Regions from separate parts of the Homo sapiens genome. Here region 1 is linked to region 2. Evidence: promoter capture Hi-C in 16 types of primary human blood cells and fetal thymus (Javierre and others, 2016). All regions are on one chromosome and are shown on one strand. Each heading gives the region's core, a stretch centred on a gene start or on the middle of the fragment in contact. The rest is flanking DNA. Distances are from core to core; before and after follow the strand shown. Region 1 has its middle 14 kb from the start of PDZD4. Region 2 holds the start of AVPR2 (arginine vasopressin receptor 2).

The links. Contacts are between HindIII fragments. The CHiCAGO score rates a contact against its expected background, and 5 or more counts as called.
Region 1: a contact is called between a fragment that was not itself captured here and the fragment with the promoter of AVPR2 in region 2, in 1 of 17 cell types (M1 macrophages). The highest score is 5.3, in M1 macrophages.

What each region holds. Positions count from the first base shown.
Region 1 is chrX:153,841,376-153,847,309 of GRCh38, forward strand. It overlaps the pseudogene CYCSP45. Among named protein-coding and RNA genes, the nearest start is that of PDZD4, 14 kb to the left of the region's middle. RefSeq lists enhancers at 3,249-4,117, 4,118-4,985. The HindIII fragment of the contact is 1,620 bases long and covers 3,622-5,241 here.
Region 2 is chrX:153,899,727-153,905,922 of GRCh38, forward strand. AVPR2 (arginine vasopressin receptor 2) reads left to right here and starts at 4,947. Exons shown (of 4, transcript NM_000054.7): 1 at 4,947-5,045; 2 at 5,248-5,444; 3 at 5,806-6,196. The coding sequence starts at 5,420. The HindIII fragment of the contact is 5,945 bases long and covers 953-6,196 here.

The DNA.
Region 1 (5,934 bases), core at 3,182-5,681, 59 kb before region 2:
TCAGGCCGCTGGATACTCTTACACGGTTGCCAGTAAGAACAAAGGCATCACCTGGGGAGAGGATACACTGATGGAGTATTTGGAGAATCCCAAGAAGCACATACCTGAAACAAAAATGATCTTTGTCGGCATTAAGAAGAAGGAAGAAAGGGCAGACTCGATAGCTTTTCTCAAAAAAGCTACTAATGAGTAATAATTGGCCACTGCCTTGTTTATTACAAAACAGAAATGTCTCATGACTTTTGTATGCATACCATCCTTTAATAGATCTCATACACCAGAATTCAGATCATGAATGACTGACAGAATATTTTGTTGAGCAGTCCTGATTTAAAACTAAGACTGGTTTGTGGTTAAATGAATACGTTCAGTTCTTGAATTTTAATAGTAACTCCAATTCAGTAAATGCTATCACTGTTTACCCCTTCTAAAGATATGATTAGACTTCGTTAGTAATGTTCAACTTTTCACAAAGATGGTGAGTGCCGTCTTAAAACTTACTGGAGATTGGTTTTATATTTAGATTTATATGACTGGTTATGTGAATATATGTAAATACTGGGGAAATTCCTTCACTGTCTTAGAACCAAGCAAGATTCACCTGTGTTTTGTGTTCATTTGCCTCTTAAAGGCAACGGTTGAAGGTAAATAAGGGAGCAATGTCTATAGTTTTGGCCTTAACTATGCCAATCTAATTAGAATTCCCTGCATTAAAAAAAAAAAAGAAAAATTTTTGTTTAGGACTTTTGTCTCTGTATTCCAGACCAAAATGGACCTACAATCTTCCTATCTTGTTCTGTTTTTGCCTAGTTAATATTAAGGTTTTGTTGGGTAATGGTCCTTCCTTTTCAATTCTCTGGCAGAGTCTGTAGAGTTGCTAGAACTTGTCTGTAAAACCATGCGGGCCGGCTGTTTTATTTGTGGGAAGATTTTTAAACCGCTGCTTCAATCTGTTTTATACTTTTAGGGTTACTAGGGCTCGCTTGCTTGCTTTTTTTTTTTTTTTTTTTTTGAGACGGAGTCTCACTCTGTCACCTAGGCTAGAGTGCAGTGGCGTGGCATGATCTCGGCTCACTGCAACCTCCACCTCCCAGGTTCAAGTGATTCTCCTGTCTCAGCCTCCCGAGTAGGTGGGATTACAGGCACCCACCACCACGCCCGGCTAATTTTTGTATTTTTAGTAGAGACGGGGTTTCACCATGTTGGCCAGGCTGGTCTCAAACTCCTGACCTCAAGTGATCCACCCGCCTCGGCCTCCCAAAGTGCTGGGATTACAGGTGTGAGCCACCATGCCCGGCCTTTTTTTGTCTGTTTTAGTAAATTTAGTATATTTCTACTTTGTTTCAGGTTTATTGTCATCAGTAGTTGGTGGTTTATTTTTAGTCCTTAAACTGTCTGTATACATTTTCTGTATTTTCATATAATTCACAATTTTAAAGGCAAAATTAAAAAAAACAATAGGCCGGGCATGGTGGCTCACGCCTGTAATCCCAGCACTTTGGGAGGCCGAGGCGGGCGGATCACCTGAGGTCAGGAGTTCGAGACCAGCCTGGCCAACATAGTGAAACCCCGTCTCTACTAAAAATACAAAAATTAGCTGGGCGTGGTGGTGCGCATCTGTGGTCCCAGCTACTCAGGAGGCTGAGGCAGGAGAATCCCTTGAACCGGGAGGCGGAGGCTGCAGTGAGCCGAGATTACACCACTGCACTCCAGCCTTGGTGACAGAGACTCTGTCTCAAAAAAAAAAAAAAAAAAAAAAAAAAAGGTAATCACATTACCCACTTTAAAGCATACATACAATTCGGTGGTTGTTAGTATACTCACAATGTTGTGCCACCATCACTAATAATTCCAGAACATTTTCATCACCCCAAAAAGAAACCCCTTACTTGTTAGCAATCAATCTCCGTTCCCCCCTCCTCTAGCCCCTGGCAACCATTCATCTCCTTGCTGTCTCTATGGATTTGCCTATTCTGATCTTTTATATGAATGGAATCATACGCTATGTGGCCTTTTGTGTGTAGCTTCTTTCACTCAGCACAATGCTTCCAAGGCTCATCTGTGTTGTGGCATGGATCAGTATTTTATTTCTTTTTATGCCTGAATAGTATATCAAATGATGAGACCAAATCATTGTACTGTTCTTGCAACTTTTCTGTAGGTTTTTACATTTTCAAAGTAAGAAGTTGAAAAGAAAAAACTTATCTTAAGCAATCATTGGATTAAAGAGGAGAGCATACAGAAGCGACAAGCTTCGAGAGCATCGTGAAAAGAAGAACACGTCTTACCCCAACCTCTACACACAACTCAAGCTTTCCACGAGGGGCAGTTAGAATAGTCAAGATATGCATGATTAAGGAGGATAGATCAAAAGTCAACGACAACCAGAAAAAGAATGAGAGAAGCCAAAGGGGAAACAAAGGAAGGGGGAAAAAGAGAATAAAGATTAAAAACATAAAATAGTAAAAATTGTAAATAAATACAAAAGCTGATTCTTTAACAACAGAAAAAAATTGATAATTTCCTAACAAAATATAACTTTCTGAAAACCCAACAAGAACTAGAAAATTTGAGTCTACAAATTACCATTTTAAAGTAGAGAAGGAAGCCAAACTCAGTAGCTCACGCCTGTAATCCCAACAGTTTGGGAGGCCAAGGTGGGAGGATCACTTGAGTCTAGGAGTTTGAGGCCAGCCTGAGCAATATAGTGAGACTCCCATCTCTACAAAAACAAAAATTAAAAAATTAGCTGGACGTGGTGGCACACACCTGTAGTCCTAGCTGCTCAGGAGGGTGAGGTGAGAGGATCGCTTGAGCCCAGGAATTTGAGGCTGCACTGAGCTACAGTCATGCCACTGTACTCCAGCCCTGGCAATGGAGGGAGACCCTGTGTCAAATAAAATAAAATAGAGAGGGGATTCTCCATAAAAACAGTACCAACCCTAAGTAGTTTCAAAGCCAAGTCCTATATAATCTTTCAAGACAAAATAATTCTGATATCATTTAAACTATTCCAGTCCACACAAAAACATTTCATAAAGCCAACAATACCTAAACCTAGGTTGATGCCCAAACCTCCTAAACAGAGTACAAAAAGAAACCTGTGAACAACTGTCACTTCTGATTACAAATGCAAAAATTATAAATAAAAGATAAGCACATGGATTCCAGCGATATAGCAAAAGAATAAGACATTATGTCTGAGCAAGACATAATATTCTATTATTATGAATAGAATAGAATTTCGGGTCTACTCCAGAAATACAGAGGTGATTGAACATCAGGAAATCTTTCCACAGAATTCATTACTCAGCAAATTAAAGGAGGAAACTCACAGGATCACTAGTTGCTGACTAGGCATTTGATGCATTTCGACAGGCGTTCCTTGAAAAAGAAAGAACATCTCTTCTAAAAGGATACTGGGTAGAAACACGTAAAGGTGGTAGTGAGAGACAGCATTTCCACTCTTCTGCATAGCAACACAAAAGCAACGGGGTGCATGGAAACCCCCTGCCAACTCCATTGTTGGCCAAAGGAGGAGTCAGACAGCCTCCTAGCAAGCAAAGCAGAAATCTTTCCCAAGCCCCAGGTCCTGAAGATATTCTCCTGTTGTCTTCTACAAGCTTTATTGTTTTGCCTTTTGTTCTTAGATCTACAACATACCTGGAATTGATTTTTTTGTGTATAATGTCAGGCAGTGGTCAAAATTTGTTTTTTCTTTAAAAAAAAAAAACAAAAAGACTTCCAGGCTGAAGATCCTCAAGAAGGATTCTGTAGGGTCTTATTACAAGGTCCATTTTGGGTCTTGTTTTTAAGCAATGCCAGGAAGCTGACCAAAGTACTCTCTTCCTTTAAAAGCAACAGTGCATTGAGATGCATCTCCCTTTGAGGGCAGAGGCATTTGCTTACACATATCGGAACTTGGGCACTTTTACATTGCAAGGGAGCCATTGGCAATTCTCTGGTCCCATCACAATTGCCTGCTGGAGAAAATGCACAGTGTGAACCCCTGGGGAGGGGATATTGCCAATTCTATGACTTGCACAACTCGCAAATCAAGTCCTTCCTCTCCTTTCATGCCTTCATGGTCTCAGTGCCCGCCCTCTGCATCCTTGGGACGAGGCCATGACCCAAAGGGGCTGCTAGGGCGCTAGTCTTCTTCCTTTCTGTCTTTGCAATGCCTCCAGTGGGTTACCTGTGATGCACACCGCATTCTGGTTTAATGCGTATTCAATTATAAATTGTTTTCTTTCTCTTCTACTTTTGTGGAGAGGTTTTCTGGGTTGGGAGAAGATTTTGTTTTTAATTAAATTTCCCCAACATACTCCATAGCAATGGGGAAAGGAGTTGTCCCCTTTCCCCATTGCTATGGAGTATGTTGGGGAAATGTAACTCATCTGACCAGGCACTTTCTCAGGCATCAGTCCCAATCAAGTTATGTTATTATAACAGGTGTTGTCCTTTCCCCATTGCTATGGAGTATGTTGGGGAAATTTAATTAAAAACAAAAGACAGAAAGGGCCTCACTCTTCTATACAGCTAAGTGGGTCTGTATCCACTACAGTAGGCAGGTTTCACAATTCGGAGCCAGGTGGCAGCTGAAACTGAGAGATGAAGAGAGTTATCTTCCTGGATGATTAATTACATTTCGAAAAGCTGGCTCCCGGATCCCAGAGGAGAGGAAACATTCCTGAGTTGTGAAACTGGCCAGAGCTTCTTTAGCCATTAAAAACATCTACATACATTTGAAAAGGACAGAGAAAGAAATTCCAAAAGATAAAGGAAAAAGGTGCAGGGAGTCTCTTACCTTATTTTCAACAGAGAGAATTAAGCCTCTTGTTTTTAATCTGTATTTGCCCTTACAATCTTCTTCCTGTGTTACTATGAAATAATAACATTGCGATATTTAATTAACACCATTGTTGCTTTTACCTTCTTCTGGGCAAGTTGCAGATGCCTAAATATCCAGCTAGCCCGTAGTAAAATGCAAAACAATGACCACAATTGCAATAGCATCAGTTTTTGAATTCAGTACAATACTTGCCTTGGAGGACAACCTTCAAATATATCACATCAATGGTTCAGGGTTCAATCAGATTCTTTGTAGGCAAATGTGTAAACATTTCCCTCCATCACACATTAATTGTACTAGCTGTCATGACATCTTCATTGCCTGAGCTTTCAAATGGCTAACCATTTGAATATTATTTCATGGCTCCTTACAAAATCTTATCCAATCCAAGCTTAAGGAGTAGTTTAACTCTGGAGTCTTATAAATTTTTAATGAAGAGTTTTCCTTGTAAGACCCCCAGAATTTCTTGAGTTTTCATCATATATGTGTGTATGTGTATATATATAGATAGATATATACATATATATACACACATATATAGATATATACATATATAGATATATACATATATACACATATATATAGATATATACATATATACACATATATATACATATATATATGTATACACATATATATGTATATATATGTAACTTTTTTTTTTTTTGAGGAGTCTTGCTCTGTTGCCCAGGCTGGAGTACAGTGGCACGATCTCAGCTCACTGCAACCTCTACCTCCTGGGTTCAAACGATTGTCCTACCTCAGCCTCCTGAGTAGCTGGAATGACAGGTGCCTACCACCAGGCCAGGCTGGTTTCAAACTCCTGGCCTCAAGTGATCCACCCACTTTGGCCTCCTGAAGTGCTGGGATTACGAGCGTGAGCCACCATGCCTGGCCCTGTAACATCATATTGACAATAATAATGTAGGCACTTTGGTAATTGTTTTGTCTTCCTGAGTGGTATTTCTCAATGTGAACTACAAAGATACCTATGGCCATATCTAGGATCGAAGTCTTTTTTTTTTTTTTTTTTGAGACGGAGTCTCGCTCTGTCACCCAAGCTGGAGTGCAGTGGTGTGGTC
Region 2 (6,196 bases), core at 3,697-6,196:
TCAGCATTATACTCATCCCCAAACCAAAGATATTACAGAAAGGGAAAACGTAGACCAGCATCTCTCATTAATACAGATGTAAAAATGGTAAACAACAGCCAGGCACAGTGGCTCACACCTGTCATCCCAGCACTTTGGGAGGCCAAGGTGGGTGGATCAGAGGTCAAGAGATCGAGACCATCCTGGTTAACATGATGAAACCCTGTCTCTACTAAAAACACAAAAATTGGCCGGGTGTGGTGGCTCATGCCTGTAATCCCAGCACTTTGGGAGGCCGAGGCAGGTGGATCACCTGAGGTCGGGAATTCGAGACCAGCCTGACCAACATGAAGAAACCCCGTCTCTACTAAAAGTACAAAATTAGCTGGGCATGGTGGCGCTTGCCTGTAATCCCAGCTACTTGGGAGGCTGAGGCAAGAGAATCTCTTGAACCTGGGAGGCGAAGGTTGCAGTGAGCCAAGATCTCGCCATTGCACTGCAGCCTGGGCAACAAGAGTGAAACTCCGACTCAAAAAAAAAAAGAAAAAAAAGAAAAAAATTCAATACTCACTTGTGATAAAAGCTTTCAGTATACCGGGTGACAGAGTGAGAGACTATGCCTCCTCCCCACCAAAAAAAATATAAAAAAAAAAAAGAAGTTACACAAAATACTATGTACTCTTTTATTTATTTATTTATTTTTATTATTATTTTTTTTTGAGACGGAGTCTTGCTGTGTCACCCAGGCTGGAGTGCAATGGCAAGATCTCGGCTCACTGAAACCTCCGCCTCCCGGGTTCAAGCGATTCTCCAGCCTCAGCCTCTGAGTAGCTGGGATTACAGGCTTGCGCCACCACGCCCGGCTAATTTTTGAAAATACTACATACTCTATGATTCTATTTATATAAAATTCTAGAAAAGGAAAATCTATAGTGATAGATCAGTGGTTGCTAGGCTTTCAGGTAGGGGAAGAAGCTTGACTGCAAAAGGCCACGAGGGAACTTTCTGGAATGTCGAAAATATTTATTCTATGTCATGATTGTGGTTGTGGTTACACGACTGTATACATTTGTCAAATCTTACTGAACAGTACAATTACAATTAATGAATTTTACTGTATGCTAATCATACCTCAATAAAGCCGAAAAAAAAAAAAGTCATTCTGGAGGAGAGAAATCATTGCCTGCGGAGGGCCATTCCAGGGTGGTGAGTGCATGAGCACTGAAGACACCCGGAGCAGCTGCTGCAATAATCTGGGGGAGGAACGTGCAGGCAGAGAGAGCAAGAGGAAGTCAGACTGGGAAACCCCGAGGCAGTTACCCAAACAGCCCACTAACAGCAACTGCAGTCGGCCGCCTCTGGGGAGGAAAGCGGGAGGGGCCACTGCCTTTAAAAAAGAAAAAAAAAAAAAATCTCTGCAGTTTTGCCAGGGAGCCGCCTCCTGCCTGACTCTCACATGATGACCTGGAGGCCATCTATGGGTACGGCCCTCAAGCCCTCAACGCTCACCCTCCTTCTACCCCCCGCCCCTCACCCCAGCACCTGCTGGAGACCCTGGCCCTCCCTTCCACTCCGCGAGGCTCTTAATCTATCCAGTTCCATGGGCTGCCTTTCCGCAGCTATAAACAGGCTCTGTCCAGCTTTCCCAGTTATTATTCACTTAGGTGAATGGACACAATTAGATGATCATCCGCAGGCTGTCTTCCTGTCATCATTGGCACACGCACACACCCTCACACACGCACACACCCTCACACACGCACACACCCTCACACACGCGCACACCCTCACACACAACCCCCCCAACGCCACACACACACACACCACACACCCTCACACACAACCACCCACGCCACACACACACCACACACCCTCACATGCACACCCTCACACACCACACACCACACACACCCCACACACACGCCCACCCTCACATACGCACACTCTCACACACACCCTCACACACTCTCACACCCTCACACACGCACACCCTCACACACACCCTCACATTCACACAAGTACACTTGAGTTTTTATTAAATTTGTTTTTGTCCCCTTCAATCCCATCCTCCAACCCGTTGTTCCTCCCTATCTCCTGGGCTCTAGGTATTCTCCTTCGGGTCACAGTCCCTGTGAGGGCCGTTCCTGTTGACAGGCACTTGGCTCCGTCCTTCCCACTGCCCACAGGCTCCACCATCTGCACATGCACCCCTCCCACACAATCGGGGGCCTCTTTCTCCTCGTCCTTGGCTGCCTCCTCTTTGTCTTCCACCCCTTACAAATCCTTCAGGGCCCTTTAAATGCCTTTTCCACCTGCCTGCTCCCTCTAGCCCCGCTGCCCAGTGTTAAGTGGGTCGCACCATTTCTCTCCTGGGTGACAGGCACAGCTTCCACCAGCCTCCCTGCCTCCACTCTTCTCTGCAGAAGCCCATGTGCTCCTGGGGCAGAGCCCAGGTCCTTCCATCTCTGCAGCCACAGTGCTAGGCCAGCGGCACTTGCAGTTTGGTGAATGGAAGGTTCTGATCATGGGGAACCGGTAGATAGAGAGGGACAAACAGTGTCCCCCCAATCTGCCTCCTGTCCTCTTCTGCCCAGACACTAGGCTGGAAGATCAGGAGCCACACCTTGGCACTCACAGAGCCCTTTCTGCAAGTCTTAGAGGGACCAGTGGGAGGTGTGCACACAGGGGCTGCGCTGGCAGGAGTGGGGGCCTGGCACACCCCCAGGTAGATGCCCTGCCCGTTAACGCCCAAGGGCAGGGGCTTGAGTGACTCATGTGGGCCTAGCGTGAATCAGCACAGTCTGCCCTTCTTCCCATGGGAGCTGCTGCCCAGCCCCATCTTTCTTGGCCCCCGAGGGGTGGCTGCCCAGGGCCTCTCTCCTGGCACAGTTCCATGTAGTGCCTGCCCATGTGGCTCCCAGTTCCTCCCCGGGGTCCTGGCTGAGCAGAATGGCACTGGATCCTGATCTGGCTTCTTGCATCCCAGAGGAGACCGCCATGCGGGCCCTTCCTCCAGATTCTTCCCTAGTTTAACAACAGGAAGCGAGGAGTCCAGGGGGGCAGAGATTGCCACGGGCCTGGCCACATTGCTAGGGGAGGTCCCAACCTGCTGCTGAGATCCGGCACTGCACAGCCTCGTTCAGGCAGAGAAACTGATAAGGAGATGGTTGTCTGCTCACCCCAAAAGGTTAGCATGGATTCCTCGCCCTAGCCGGCTTTAGACGGAGGGAACAAAGGCTTTCCCAAGGCCCTGCCAGTCCCCACCCCTGCCCATCTTACCACCGTAGTCTCCCTCAATCATCAAGTCCCATTGCACAGAAGGGGAAGCTGAGGTGCCAAGAGCTGGCGTGGCCTGTTCAAGGTCACACTACTGGGCAGGGGCCAAGCAGGGGCTGGAGCCTTGCTTTCCTATTCCCCAGCCAGGGTCCCCAAATTCTCTGCCAGTTGAGGGAAGCCATCTCCTATTCCACTGATCTGGGTGGCATTAGGAAGGCCTTTTCTATGCTCCTAGATTAGTGACAGCATGCGGTTATTGGGGACAGCATGAGGATGTGCATGCGCTGAGGAGATGCAGCTGAAGCGTCAGGCCTGGGGTGCCAGCACTCTGCAGCCTGCCCCCAAGGGGCTCTGCAAAAACATGGCAAAGATGCGGGGTGTGATGTGCACCTGTGTGTGCTGCGGGTGTGTGCGTGTGTGGTGTTGGCTGTGCGTATGTGGTGTGTATGGCTGTGTGGTGGGTACATGTGTGGGTGTGTGGCGTATGGGAGTGTGTGATGTGTGCATGTGTGTGGTGTGTAATATATGTGTGCATGGTGTGGTGTGTGTGTGGTGTGGCGTATGGGTGTGTGGTGGGTGCATGTGTGTGTGGCGTGTGGCTGTGTGCATGTATGTATGTGGTGTGGTGTGTGCGCTGTCTCTGGAAAATGCCCACCCTGTGTTCCCACCACCCTAACAGGGCCGGGAGGGGCCAGGGTGCTGCCAGGCTCTCTGGGCAGGAAGAGGAGGCCTTGGCCGCGGGCCGGACTTGGGCCTGGTCCGTGAGGCTGTTTTGGTCTCTGGCTTCACAGGCAACAGAGAAGACAGACAAACAGGAAGAAAGCAGCTGCCTTGGGCTGGGCTGGGCTGGGCTGGCCTCGGCTGAGCCAAGCCAGGCCTGGGTGCGGGGGGAGTGGAAAGAGAACTACTGGGATGGGGGCTGGAGGGGGTGTGGGGACAGGGGAAGGAGAGAGGTGTTGGGGGAGGGAGGAGGAGGGCTCAGGTACAGGGAAGGTGCGTCCATACTCATGGTATGTTCAAGAACATGAGCGAGCGTCTCTGTGTTGTGTGTTTGTGGCTGTGTGGCTGTATCATGTGAGGTTGTGTGTGGTGGGAGGGAGCCCGTGAGCACACGGAGGTCCCCAGCCCCTCTTCCTAGGACAGGTAGTTGCAGGTGGGGCAGGAGGAAGAGGGTGGGGGTGTCCCTGGATCTCACAGGGGTTCGTGAAGCCTGGCTTGGCCCCTGCCCCACTCCTCCCTTTCCTGTCCCTCGTCTCCGGCCAACTGGGCCCTAACTGGGGAGGAGGAGGGGCCTGCGTGGGCCTGGGAGGGGCCCAGCGAAAGTGTTTTCACCCCTTCCTTGCCTGGGCCCAGCGAGGAGCAGGAGGACCCCAACTTGGGAAGGGGGCGTGAAGCTCCCATGAAAAAGCAGCGCAGTCCTGGGCCAGACCCACCGCTCTCTGGCCTCAGTTTCCCCACTTATAAAATGGGAATGCTGAACTAAGTGACCTCCCAGAGCACTGCCAACCCAGACAATCCAACCAGGGGGGCGTGGTAGGGTGAGGGTGGGCGTGGAGGCTATGGCAGTGGGAGGAGGGAGTCCTGGGCCGGGACCAGGGAGGCCCTGGGGAAAGGAAGGGAAACAGGAGGCCAGGGGAGGCCTGGGGGAAAGGGGGAGGGGGAGGAAGTCCCCTCCTGGCCAGGTCACTCCCAGAGGCTGGGCTGGGCCAGGGCAGGGCAGCCGATGGAGAGCAGATCTGAGCACCCAGCCACCTTCACGCCACCGCCCAGCTGCCCAGGAGCCCAGCCAGGTAAGGGGCTGCGCCTGCCTGCCCCCCTGCCCAGTCCCCAGCCCTCGGATGGTGGCCTCTCTCGGCCTCGGTTGGGGCAGGGGAGTTCTGCGTGTCTGTCTGGGGTGCCCACTCCCAAACCCGGGACTCATGGGCTGCCTGGGGGATCCTGGGTTCTGTGCATCCGTCTGTCTGACCATCCCTCTCAATCTTCCCTGCCCAGGACTGGCCATACTGCCACCGACACGTGCACACACGCCAACAGGCATCTGCCATGCTGGCATCTCTATAAGGGCTCCAGTCCAGAGACCCTGGGCCATTGAACTTGCTCCTCAGGCAGAGGCTGAGTCCGCACATCACCTCCAGGCCCTCAGAACACCTGCCCCAGCCCCACCATGCTCATGGCGTCCACCACTTCCGGTAAGGCTTGCCCCTCCATGAGTCCGGTGGGCAGAGTGGGTTTGACGATTCAGGGAAGCCCCTCTTTCTAAAGACCTCCTTCACCCTCACCTCTGGGTGTGTCTCTCCAGGCTGCCAATGAGTGGGGAGGGGAGCACAGCCCCACTTCCCCGCCAGGGCTGGGGCTGGGGCTGGGGCTGGGGCTGCCCTTCCTTCTGGACTGCATGAGCCTGGGGTGTGTATCCCTCATAACATGGCTTTCCTGGAGTCCCCTCTGCTAGGAGCCAGGAAGTGGGTGTCCGGATGGGGGCACGGGAGGCAGGCCTGAGTCCCCCTGCACAGCACCCTCTCTAACCAGGCCCTCTTCCCGACTCCTTCCCAGCTGTGCCTGGGCATCCCTCTCTGCCCAGCCTGCCCAGCAACAGCAGCCAGGAGAGGCCACTGGACACCCGGGACCCGCTGCTAGCCCGGGCGGAGCTGGCGCTGCTCTCCATAGTCTTTGTGGCTGTGGCCCTGAGCAATGGCCTGGTGCTGGCGGCCCTAGCTCGGCGGGGCCGGCGGGGCCACTGGGCACCCATACACGTCTTCATTGGCCACTTGTGCCTGGCCGACCTGGCCGTGGCTCTGTTCCAAGTGCTGCCCCAGCTGGCCTGGAAGGCCACCGACCGCTTCCGTGGGCCAGATGCCCTGTGTCGGGCCGTGAAGTATCTGCAGATGGTGGGCATGTATGCCTCCTCCTACATGATCCTGGCCATGACGCTGGACCGCCACCG